4 separate regions of the Homo sapiens genome follow, and all the other regions are linked to region 4. The links are contacts of gene promoters, found by promoter capture Hi-C in human tissues and cell types (Jung and others, 2019). All regions are on one chromosome and are shown on one strand. The core of a region is centred on a gene start or on the middle of the fragment in contact, and the rest is flanking DNA. Distances in the headings are between cores, read along the strand shown.

What was found. Contacts are between HindIII fragments. The study calls those that stand out against the background at their distance.
Region 1: the fragment with the promoter of TBXA2R here is called in contact with the fragment with the promoter of ATCAY in region 4 in 3 of the 25 tissues and cell types used here (IMR-90 fibroblasts, pancreas and spleen).
Region 2: a contact is called between the fragment with the promoter of TMIGD2 here and the fragment with the promoter of ATCAY in region 4, in 3 of the 25 tissues and cell types used here (lymphoblastoid cells, mesenchymal stem cells and small bowel).
Region 3: the fragment with the promoter of STAP2 here is called in contact with the fragment with the promoter of ATCAY in region 4 in 2 of the 25 tissues and cell types used here (aorta and heart right ventricle).

What each region holds. Positions count from the first base shown.
Region 1 is chr19:3,605,544-3,608,277 of GRCh38, reverse strand. It overlaps TBXA2R (thromboxane A2 receptor), which reads left to right and starts at 1,403. Exons shown (of 3, transcript NM_001060.6): 1 at 1,403-1,748. It overlaps CACTIN-AS1 (CACTIN antisense RNA 1), which reads right to left and starts at 1,031. Exons shown (of 4, transcript NR_038865.1): 1 at 869-1,031. RefSeq lists enhancers at 705-1,278, 1,852-2,426 and silencers at 1,265-1,344, 1,455-1,504. The HindIII fragment of the contact is 21,214 bases long and covers 1-2,734 here.
Region 2 is chr19:4,301,018-4,303,717 of GRCh38, reverse strand. It overlaps TMIGD2 (transmembrane and immunoglobulin domain containing 2), which reads left to right and starts at 1,329. Exons shown (of 5, transcript NM_001169126.2): 1 at 1,329-1,378. The coding sequence starts at 1,333. RefSeq lists an enhancer at 1,323-1,868. The HindIII fragment of the contact is 29,023 bases long and covers 1-2,700 here.
Region 3 is chr19:4,337,478-4,340,177 of GRCh38, reverse strand. STAP2 (signal transducing adaptor family member 2) reads left to right here and starts at 1,351. Exons shown (of 13, transcript NM_001013841.2): 1 at 1,351-1,526. The coding sequence starts at 1,425. The HindIII fragment of the contact is 19,957 bases long and covers 1-2,700 here.
Region 4 is chr19:3,879,423-3,882,122 of GRCh38, reverse strand. It overlaps ATCAY (ATCAY kinesin light chain interacting caytaxin), which reads right to left and starts at 1,438. Exons shown (of 13, transcript NM_033064.5): 1 at 1,115-1,438. RefSeq lists an enhancer at 1,233-1,763. The HindIII fragment of the contact is 15,458 bases long and covers 1-2,700 here.

The sequences.
Region 1 (2,734 bases), core at 154-2,653, 270 kb after region 4:
GCCCTCTCCTCACAAGATGTCTTCCTAGCTCACCTCTGGGCTTCCCTAGGCCCTGTCTCTTCCTTTGGCCCAGCCCTGACCCCAGGGGGCTGGAACAGCCTGTGTCCAGTTCATTCTCCAGCCTAGGGCATCCTGAAGGGCAGGCCTGGTTTCAGGTCTCACTTGGAGCTCATAATTGTCCCACTGTATAAGCTGAACACAGAGAGGGGTTGGGGAGAGTAAGACTTGGAGATTAGGTCGGCTTCACGGGAAAGCAGCCTTGGAGCCAGGGTTTTGCCACATCCATAGGAGTTGGATAGCCTCCTTGCCAGGAAAGAGAGAAGTTGTGTTAAATGGCTGGTGACTTAATGGGATAGAGCTTTGGGAGGGAGGTTGGGTGTGGCCGAAGGCCAGGAGGAGGAAGGATAGTGGGCGGGGTAGCCGGGGAAGGGGCTTCCGGACTGGGCTGACGAGAGGGCCGGGCCAGGCTGGGAATACCCCTCACTCACAGCCTGGACTAGCAGCCCTCCCGGGCCCAGGGGACGGGGTGGGGTGCAGTCAGGGCAAGGTCAGCTTGTCCGGTCCCACTCCAGGTCCCTAACTCAAGGTTCTGTCCGGCTCGGGTGTACAAACAAGGCCAAGGAAGCCCAAGGTCCCCCCTCTGCAAAGAGACGGTCCCAGTCCCTGCGTCCGGCACCTTCTCAGCCATTCCTGTTGGGCTCCATCCCTCCTTCCCCAGCCCGAGCTGGGGGGTGGCCAGGAAAGAGTGCCCATCCCCCACTGCAGCCTCCCGGCTCCAGACTGTTCCTCCTCTGGCTCCAAAGCCACCTCCGAGCCTCCTCAAGAGACCCTCCCATGCGATGCCATCACCCCAGCCCTCCCGGCTCACCTGCTCTGGGACCACCTTTCTCAGTCTGGCTGTGTCGTCTGGTGCACCCCCCATCCCTCTGTCCTCCCACCCCACCCCTGGAAGGGGCCTCAAATATGTCCTGTATGTATTAAGCAGGGCATACTACTACTGTGTGCCGCGTTCCAGCGCACCCAGTGAATTTGGAGCCCTGGAGTCTGGGCGACCCCCGGGAGCCGATCCGCCTGGACCTGCCCCGCCCCCTCCAGGCCTTGGGTGCTGCCCAGATGGTGAATAATGCGGGCCTGGCGGCGGGAGCGCCGGGAAGAGGCCTGGCAGGGCGCTGGGCGGCTGGAGGGGCTGAGGCTCCCGAGGAAGCGCCCCTGCCACCCCTACGCGGGCCATTGCATCCCTGCCACCGGTGGCCTGGGGGTCCCAAGGGCGCCGCCTTCCCCAGAAGGCTGTAGGGTGTCCCGGCGTGCGGGGGGCACCCACTGACTCCAAGTCAGCCAGGCCCGGGCCCGAGGGGCGTGGCCAGCGCAGGGTGGGCGGGGCTGATGAGAGACAGCGGGAGACAGAGACTGGACGGAGAGAGCGAGCCGCGGGCTGCCAGCGGCCCCCACCCGTCCCAGCTCGGCTTAGCCCCCGCGGACCCCTCCAGGCCGCGACCCCAGGGCGTCCTGTGCCGCCACGCCCTCCATCTGTGTGGGTCCTCTGCTGGGCCCGCCCCTGGTCACAGCCAGACTGACTCAGTTTCCCTGGGAGGTCCCGCTCGAGCCCGTCCTTCCCCTCCCTCTGCCCGCCCCCAGCCCTCGCCCCACCCTCGGCGCCCGCACATCTGCCTGCTCAGCTCCAGACGGCGCCCGGACCCCCGGGCGCGGGATCCAGCCAGGTGGGAGCCCCGCAGATGAGGTCTCTGAAGGTGAGGTCGCCCCGCTGGCTTAGGGCGGGATGCACTGCTCTGGTGTGAGCCCGGGCTGCTGGGCGCATCCGGCGCTGGCCCTGCCCTGCTGTGGGTGTGTCGCAAAGCCCGCGGTGACAGCGGCCAGGTGCCAGGTGTCCCCTGTGTGGCCCGGCGGGTGGCATGGTGCCCTGAGGCCTGCCCTGGGCGCCCAGGCGGCTGGGTCTGGGTGCGGCCCAGGCTGATTCTGTCCGGGGGGCTCTCTGGTCTCTGTGGGGCCACATGGCTGTGAATGGGGGTCCCAGACTCAGGGGGCTGCAGCCGGGGAGGGGGCCCAGGCCCTGGGTGTGGCAGGGATCGAGTGTGGTTGTGCGGCTGTGTGTGTGATCTTGTCTCTGGGAGTGAACCATGCATGGCCCTGGTTGTGTGTCTGTGTCTGTGCGTGTGTGGTGGTTTTGTGTGTGTGACCGTGTGTTTGTTTCTGCCGAGAGTCTGTGACTGTTAAATACTGTGTGTTCTTCTGTGTGTCTTTCTGTGTCTGTCTGTATCTATGTACCTGTTGTGTTTCTGCCTGTGTGTCTGTGTTTTTCTGTCTGTGTCTGTCACATTTCTGCCTGTGTGCCTATGTGTGTATCTGTGTGTGTCTATGTCTGTCGTGTTTCTGCCTGTATGTGTCTGTGTGTGGCTGTGTGTCTGTTGTGTTTCTGCTTGTGTGTGTCTATCTGCGTGTGTCTGTGTGTCTGTTGTGTTTCTGCTTGTGTGTGTCTGTGTCTGTCATGTTTCCATCTGTGTGTGTCTATCTGTATGTGTCTATGTATTTGCCATGTTTCTGTATGTGTGTCTGTGCATGCCTGTGCGTCTGTCTACTGTGTTTCTGTCTGTCACATTTCTGCCTGTGTGTCTGTCATGTTTCTGTCTGGGTGTGTCTGTGGTGTTTCTGTGTGTGTCTATCTGTGTGTGTCTGTGTATCTGCCATGTTTCTGTATGTGTGTCTGTGCATGTCTGTG
Region 2 (2,700 bases), core at 80-2,579, 420 kb before region 4:
TTAAATTATTATTATTATTTTTTTTTAGAGACGGACTCACTCTGTTGCCCAGGCTGGAGTAACGGGGCGCAATCATGGCTTACTGCAGCCTCCAACTCCTGGGCTCAAGCGGTTCTCCTGCCTCAGCCTCCCGAGTGGCTGGGACTATAGGCATGCACCATCACCCTGGGTTGGTTTTGTATCTTTTTTTTTTTTTTTGAGACACAGTCTCACTCTGTCGCCCAGGCTGGAGTGCAGTGGCAGGATCTCGGCTCCCTGTAATCTCCATCTCCCCAGTTCTGGCGATTCTCCTGCCTCAACCCCACTGAGTAGCTGGGACTACAGGCGCCCACCACTAGGCCCAGCTAATTTTTGTATTTTTAGTAGAGACCGGGTTTTGCCATGTTGGCTAGGCTGGTCTTGAACTCCTGACCTCAGGTGATCCACCCGCCTTGGCCTCCCAAAGTGCTGGGATTACAGGCCTGGGCCACCATGCCCAGCCTGTATCTTTTTTTTTTTTTTTTTTTTTTTAATAGAGATTGGATCTCGCTGTGTTACCCCAGGTTGATCTTAAACTCGGCTCAAGTGATCCTCCCACCTCAGCCTCACAAAGTGCTGGGATTACAGGTGTGAGCTACAGCGCCCAGCAAAAGAAAGACATTTTGGGAGCAAAATAATTGAGGCAGGGACCCTGTCATTTAACTCACTGCTCAGGCCTATGTCGCCTGCCCCTCCCCCACGGAGCCACCTGCTCTCGCACTGTGTCTTCCTGTACCTAGATGTGTTTATGTAGAGCCTTCCAGAAAGCTCACAGGGGTGGATTCCTCCCACTCACTTGCATACACTGCCTTTCTTTTCTTTTTTTCTGAGACGGAGTTTCACTCTTGTCGCCCAGGCTGGAGTGCAGTGGCGTGATCTTGGCTCACTGCAACCTCCGCCTCCCGGGTTTAAGCCATTCTCCTGCCTCAGCCTCCCAAGTAGCTGGGATTATAGGCGCCCATCACCATGTCCAGCTAATTTCTGTATTTTTAGTAGAAATTAGTAGGGGTTTCATCATGTTGGCCAAGCTGGTCTCGAACTCCTGACCTCAGGTGATCCACCTGCCTCGGCCTCCCAAAGTGCTGGGATTACAGACATGAGCCATGTTGCCTGGTCCGTACACTGCCTTTCAGATAGAAAATGCATTGGGGAAACTGAGGCACGAGGTGGCAGGAAGTGGAGCCCCCAGCAGGCTGGAACACCGGACGTCTGTTGTCTGGCCCTGGGTGTTGCATCTGCTTCTGCAGCGGGAGGCGGAGATTGTGGCAGGAAGTCTGTCAACTGGGAGGGGGAGAGGGGGGTGATGGGCCAGGAATGGGGTCCCCGGGCATGGTGCTGGGCCTCCTGGTGCAGATCTGGGGTGAGTATCTGGGCCTCCCTCCCCTCTGAACCCCACTCTTGCTGTCATCCCCAGCTGCCTGCCCCCCAGCTCAGGGCCCCTCTAAACTTCAGTCTCTCTACTGTCAGATAAGGCCCATCTCCCTCCGAGACTCAGAACGTGATGGGGGCTGGAGGATTAAGGAAGGATCCTCTGAGGGCCCCTAGGATACAATCTAAACCTTGCCCTACATACCAGCCTGGCCTGGCCTCTCTCATCTCCACCCTCCGCAGTGCCTTTGCTCCCTCCCTCTTGCTCTAGCCTGGGGACTTTTCTTTCTCTGTTTCCGCAATGGGAAGGCTGGATCTGGCCTTCGAGCCTTTGCACCTGCTGTTCCAGCTGCCTAATACCCTTCTCCAGATCTCATGTCTCTACCCTCCTCTGCAATTGCATCTCAAATGCCAGGAACTTCACATAACCTCAACTTCTCCGGGGGTCTAACAGACACGTCAGACTTCTCACAGCTAAAAGCAGACTTTCTACTCCGGCAGCAGCTCCCTCTGTGTTTCCAATTAAGGACAAAGGCTGCTGCCCTTCACACATTTCCTGGGGCGAAAACCTCCATTCCTCTTTCCCTCTCCTCTGATTCCAGCCGCTTGCACTTTTTTGTTGTTCATTTGTGTTTTTTTGTTTGTTTGTTTTGTTTTGTTTTGAGAAGGAGTCTTGCTCTGTCACCCAGGCTAGAGTGCAGTGACGCGATCTCGGTTGACTGCAACCTCTGCCTCCCAGGTTCAAGAGATTCTCCTGCCTCAGGCTCCCGAGTAGCTGGGACTGCAGGCGCGCGCCACTGCGCCTGGCTAATTTTTTTTGTATTTTTAGTAGAGACGGGGTTTCGCCATCTCGGCCAGGTGGGTCTCGAACTCCTGACCTCATGATCCACCCACCTTGGCCTCCCAAAGTGCTGGGATTACAGGCGTGAGCCACCGTGCCCAGTCATTTTTGTTTTTTAGAGATGGGTCTCACTATGTTGCCCAGGCTGGTCTTGAACTCCTGGCCTCAAGCAATCACCCAGTCTTGGCCACCCAAAGGGCTGGGATAACAGGCATGAGCCACCACACCCAACCAAGGTCTTTTTATTAAAACTTAAATTGGAGACTGAGGCAGGTGGATCACTTGAGGTCAGGAGTTCCAGACCAGCCTGGCCATGTTGGTGAAACCCCATCTCTACCAAAAATACAAAAATTAGCTGGGCGTGGTAGCGAGTGCCTGTAGTCCCAGCTACTCAAGAGGCTGAGCCACAAGAATCACTTGAACCTGGGAGGCAGAGGTTGCAATGAGCCGAGATCACACCACTGCACTCCCAC
Region 3 (2,700 bases), core at 102-2,601, 460 kb before region 4:
ACGTGCCTATAATCCCAGCTACTCGGGAGGCTGAGGCAGGAGAATTGCTTGAACCTGGGAGGCAGAGGTTGCAGTAAGCCGAGATCGCTCCACTGCACTCCAGCCTGGGTGACAGAGTAAGACTCTGTCTCAAAAAAAAAAAAAAAAAAAGACCAGCCTGGGCAACATAGCAAGAACCTGTCTCTAGTAAGTGTAAAAATTAGCTGGGCGTGGTGGCAGGCACCTGTAATCCCAGCTACTTGGGAGGCTGAGCCAGGCGAATGGCATGAACCTGGGAGGCGGAGCTTGCAGTGAGCCGAGATCACGCCACTGCACTCCAGCCTGGGCTACAGAGCGAGAGTCTGTCTCAAAAAAAAGAAAAAAAAAAATTAGCCAGGTGTGGTGGCATGCAACTGTAGTACCACCTACTCTGGAGGCTGAGGCTGGAGGATCACTTGAGCCTGTAAGGTCGAGGCTACAGTGAGTCATGATCGCCCCACTGTACTCCAGCCTAGGCAACATAGTGAGAACTCATCCTTAAAAAAGGAAAATAAATTAGCTGGGTGTGGTGGTGCCCACCTATAGTCCCAGCTCTTCGGGTGGCTGAGGCAGGAGGACCGCTTGAGATTGGGAGGTCAGGGCTGCAGTGAACTATGATCGTGCCACTGCACTCCAGCATCGACAACAGAATGAGACACCGTCTAAAAAAGAAAAATTGCAGATGAAATTAAAGTTGCTAGTCAGCTGACTTTAAAATAGGGAGAGTAGCGTGGATTATCCAGGTGGGCCCAATGTAATCATTAGGGTCCATCAAAGTAAGAGAAAGGGCCAGGTGTGGTGGCTCATGCCTGTAATCTCAGCACTTTGGGAGGCTGAGGCGGGCAGAAAACTTGGGGTCAGGAGTTCGAGACCAGCCTGGGCCAACATGGGGAAACCTCGTCTCTACTACAAATACAAAAATTAGCCAGGCGTGGTGGCGGTCACCTGCAATCCACGCTAGTCAGGAGACTGAGCTTGGACTCAGTCTCTGAACCCGGGAGGCAGCGCAGTCTCTTGAACCCGGGAGGCAGAGGTCGCAGTGAGCCAAGATCATACCACTTTACTCCAGCCTGGGCAACAGAGTGAAACTCTGTCTCAAAATAGGAAAAATAGATAAATAAATAAATAAAGAGACAGACCATGTCTCTGTCTTTGCAGATATAGCGAAGATTATTCTCCCATTCAAGTAGACTTATACATTCTCTCTGTTCTCAGTTCCACACCGGAGAGGCGGGGATTTCCCTAGGATCACTGGACCTGCTGGGATCAGCCTCTGCCCAGCCCTGGCAGGGGAGGGAGTTGACGGGCTGACACAGGAAACTCCCCTGAAACCTGTTTCTCAGCTTCCCGGCCCAGCTGGGGCACCCACTGGAAGGAGAGGCCAGGCGGAAGACCCTGGCTCCGTCATGGCCTCTGCCCTGAGGCCACCCCGTGTCCCCAAGCCTAAGGGTGTCCTGCCTTCACACTACTATGAGAGCTTTCTAGAGAAGAAGGGGCCCTGTGACCGGGTAAGGTGGGGAGGCGGGGGCTGGCCCTGCTGGGCCACCGTGGGGAGCTGCGGCACCTCTCTGAGTCCCTGTCTCCCCACTCGCCAAGGGGGGGCGGGGTGGGTGCTGGATGGGGCAGGACACGTGCTGGGGGACTGGGGTGGGTTCTGGCCATCTGCCTCTCTGTGCGTCTATCTCTGTCTCCGTGTGTCTTTGAATTTGGTTTCTTTTTCTCTTTCTCTCTCCCTGGCCCCGTCTGTCTCTCCCGATGTCTGTCTCAGTCTCCCTCTCTCTTTGTCTCAATCTTTGCTTTTGTCTCTCGTTCACTCTCTTGAATACAAACAAGATCAGGGACTTCCTCCAGGAAATGGGGAGTCCTCTGACTCCCGAGCTTCCTCCCGCTCCCAGCCCAGGAAAAACTCCGTGAACCTCAGCTGCTGGGGCGAAGGCCAGGACAGGTGACATGTGAGGACAGTAAGAGCTAGCGGGGGCCACATTCCACAGGACAGATAGTTGCCATGGACAGTGCGTGCATGTGTGTGTGTGTGTGTGCTTATGTCTCCCTCAGAATAAAGTCCCAGCCCCTCCGTTCCCCGTGAGGCCCTATCTCTCCTTCCCAATGCCGCATATTCATTTTCTTTCTTTCTTTTTGTTAGAGACAGAGTTGCTCTGTCACCCAGGCTAGAGTGCAGGGGCACGATCATGGCTCACTGTAGCCTCAAACTCCTGGGCTCAAGTGAACCTCCCGCCCCAGCCTCCTGAGTAGCTGGGACCACAGGCATGCACTGCCTCTTCTGGCTTTTATTTTATTTATTTATTTTTGAGACTGAGTCTCACTCTGTCACCCAGGCTGCAGTGCAGTGGCACCATCTCGGCTCACTGCAACCTCCACCTCCCAGGTTCAAACGATTAAGCGATTCTCGTGCCTCAGCCTCCCGAGTAGCTGGGATTACAGGTACGCACCACCACACCTAATTTTTGTATTTTTAGTAAAGACAGTGTTTCATTTTGTTGGCCCGGCTGGTCTTGAACTCTTGACCTCAGGTGATCCACCTGTCTCGGCCTCTCTAAATGCTGGGATTACAGGCATGAGCCACCGCACCCAGCCTTTTTTTTTTTTTTTTGAAGATGGGGTCTTGCTGGCCAGGCGCAGTGGGTCACACCTGTAATCCCAGCACTTAGGGAGGCTGAGGCA
Region 4 (2,700 bases), core at 189-2,688:
CCCCAGCATAGATATCGGGTTTGCATCGGGGACAGGGGACTGTGGCTTAGCAAGGAAGGACCCAGAGGCAGCCTCAGCCAGATGAGGAAGTGGGGGGAGGGGACGGCTAAAACTAGACCCTCCCCCGTACAGGGTGAGCGTTTCTCACTCGATTCTCTGTCCTCAATGTCGTCATTCATGCTTGGAGGAGGGACAGTAACACGCAGCATGGAAAAAAAAAAAATCCCTCCTGGATGCTATGGGGTCGGGGGGGGGGCGGTGGCAGCAGCCAGCCAGGCCCTTCCCGCGAGGGTAAGTTCTCCTCGGCAGTAGAAACGCATTTGCTCTCCGGAGGAAGGGGTCTTCGCCTCTCCCTTCCTTATACTGAGCTGGGTGTGACCTCAGCCCCCAGGAACACTCCCACCAGCCCCGCCCCCGACCCCCACCCCCTGCCAGCTGCAGCCACAGGCGTTGACTCCACAGTCTTCTAAGGATGGGGTGGGGTGGGTCCTCAGTGGGCCCCGGACACTCCTGCACTCAGATCCTGGCTTCGCATTTGGGGACGGCCAAAAGAAGACAGTGACATCAAGGAACGGGAGTGAAGCGCTCATTTGAGCCCTGATGTCTGATTATTAACAAATCACATACGAGTTCCAATAAGGAGGAGGCATCTGTGTCTTAAACCATAAACCACCCCCTTCCTCCCCACCCCACAGGACAGCCTTTATCGACACACTTAGATTTTTTTTTTTTTTTTTTCCCGAAATCGTCGGCTGGTGGCCTTCCTAGCGTTATAAATAGGAAATACATAGGGCTAGGATGGGTCTATTTCAGCGTCCCAGAGAGAAGCTGAGGTTTTCATCCGCCCGAGCTCTCAGCGTGTCCTGAAAATGGTGCACTTAGAGGGGAACGGTGCGCGCGGAAGGTAAACTGTGTTGCTGGGCGCAGCTCAGGGAACGGTTTTCCCTGGTACCGGGAACAGGGATGTGAGGGCCTTCACGGAGTCACAAGACCGTGGCTCTCTGCTCCCACCCGCCCCATCTGCTGGAAAGGGATTTAGAGGCGGCAAAGGCTGCCGGATAAACCTTCCAGGGAGACGGTTTATCCTGGGAGAAGGGGAGATGCGCGCACTCACCTCTGCAGCTGAGACAGCCTCTCCTCCTTACTGGCAAACAAAGGCGAGCCCTGCCCGGGTGCAGCTGGGCATCGCTCACGCTCCCCGGGCCTTCAGAGCCTAGGAGGAAGAGGATGCTCGCAGGGGCGGATTCTGCATCCGAGGAAGGTCACCCAGGGCGACGTGGCCAGCGCCCGCCAGCTCTTTTGTGCAGGGGTGGGTGGGGTGCAGGGTTAGCGGTGGGCTCCCCAGCGCGGGGCTGCGGCTGCGCCCCCTCTCATCGCCGCCCGCCTGCGCGCCCTGCCTCCGAGGTAGCTGCTTCTTCCCAGCTCAGGGCTGGCAGAGGCTCGGCTTCCCGAAGACGGTTAATTTATGCTGCTTTTGTGTGCAGGGAGGAGGGGGTGGGGGGTGGCGGCCTGACGGAAAAGCACAGCCCCCTGCCAGAATCCGATCCTCCCCATTGGCTGACAGACAAGCATCTCCGAAAGCCACGCCAGGGGCAGAGGCAGAAATAATTTTCTGATGGCGCATCAGAGATTTAAAAACAAAACAACGGACAAATAAATAAATAAATGGCAAGATGGCCTCATTCCTTAGAGAATGGGGGGTGGGGGAGTTGGGAAAGGTCTTCTTGGCACTTCTCCTTGCAAAGGGAGCAGGGGTGAGGGGTGGCATCCCCCAAAAAGTCTGTGCAGGCAAAGAAATGACTGTCCCCAGGTCGGATGCCATGGCTCACGCCTGTAATCCCAGCACTTTCGGAGGCCGAGGAGGGAGGATCACCTGAAGTCAGGAGTTCGATACCAGCCTGGCCAACATGGTGAAACCCCGTTTCTACTGAAAATACAAAAATTAGCCAGGCGTGGTGGCGTGCGCCTGTAATCCCAGCTACTCGGGAGGCTGAGGCAGGAGAATCGCTTGAACCTGGGAGGCGGAGGTTGCAGTGAGCCGAGATGGCGCCACTGCACTGCAGCCTGGGCGGCAGAGGGAGACTCTGTCTCAAAGAAAAAAAAAAAAAAAGAAAGAAATGACTGTCCCCAGGTCACCGTGTTGTGGGTCCATTAGATGGTCACTTACCATTGATTCAGCCTCGTGCCCTAAACAGGGCTGGGTGCAGGGGAGGCGGAAGTTTCTCAGGCACACTCACTTTGCAGGGCTGCTGTGGGAACGGCGCCCCCTGCAGTTGTGCGCTGGCGTGGCCTCGCCCTGGAGGAATTCAAGGAGACTGTGGAAGATGGTAGGGTGGAGAGTGCAGGCCGTGCAGTCGGACTGGAAGTGGGTTTGAACTCTAGCCCAGCCACTCCCCAGCTGGCAGACCAGTGGGCATGAGTGATCTCACCTGCGGGCCTCAGTTTTTCTCATCTGTGAAATGGAGCCGCTATGGCTTTTCCACATTATGAGATAATGCATAGACAGCACTAAACACAGTGCTGGGGCACAAGAAAAGCTCCCTATGTGTTTCTTTCTCTTTCTTTCTTTCTTTCTTTCTTTCTTTCTTTCTTTCTTTCTTTCTTTCTTTCTTTCTTTTTTTTTTTTTTTTAGGTGGAGTCTCGCTCTGTTGCCAGGCTGGAGTACAGTGGTGCGATCTTGGCTCACTGCAACCTCCGACT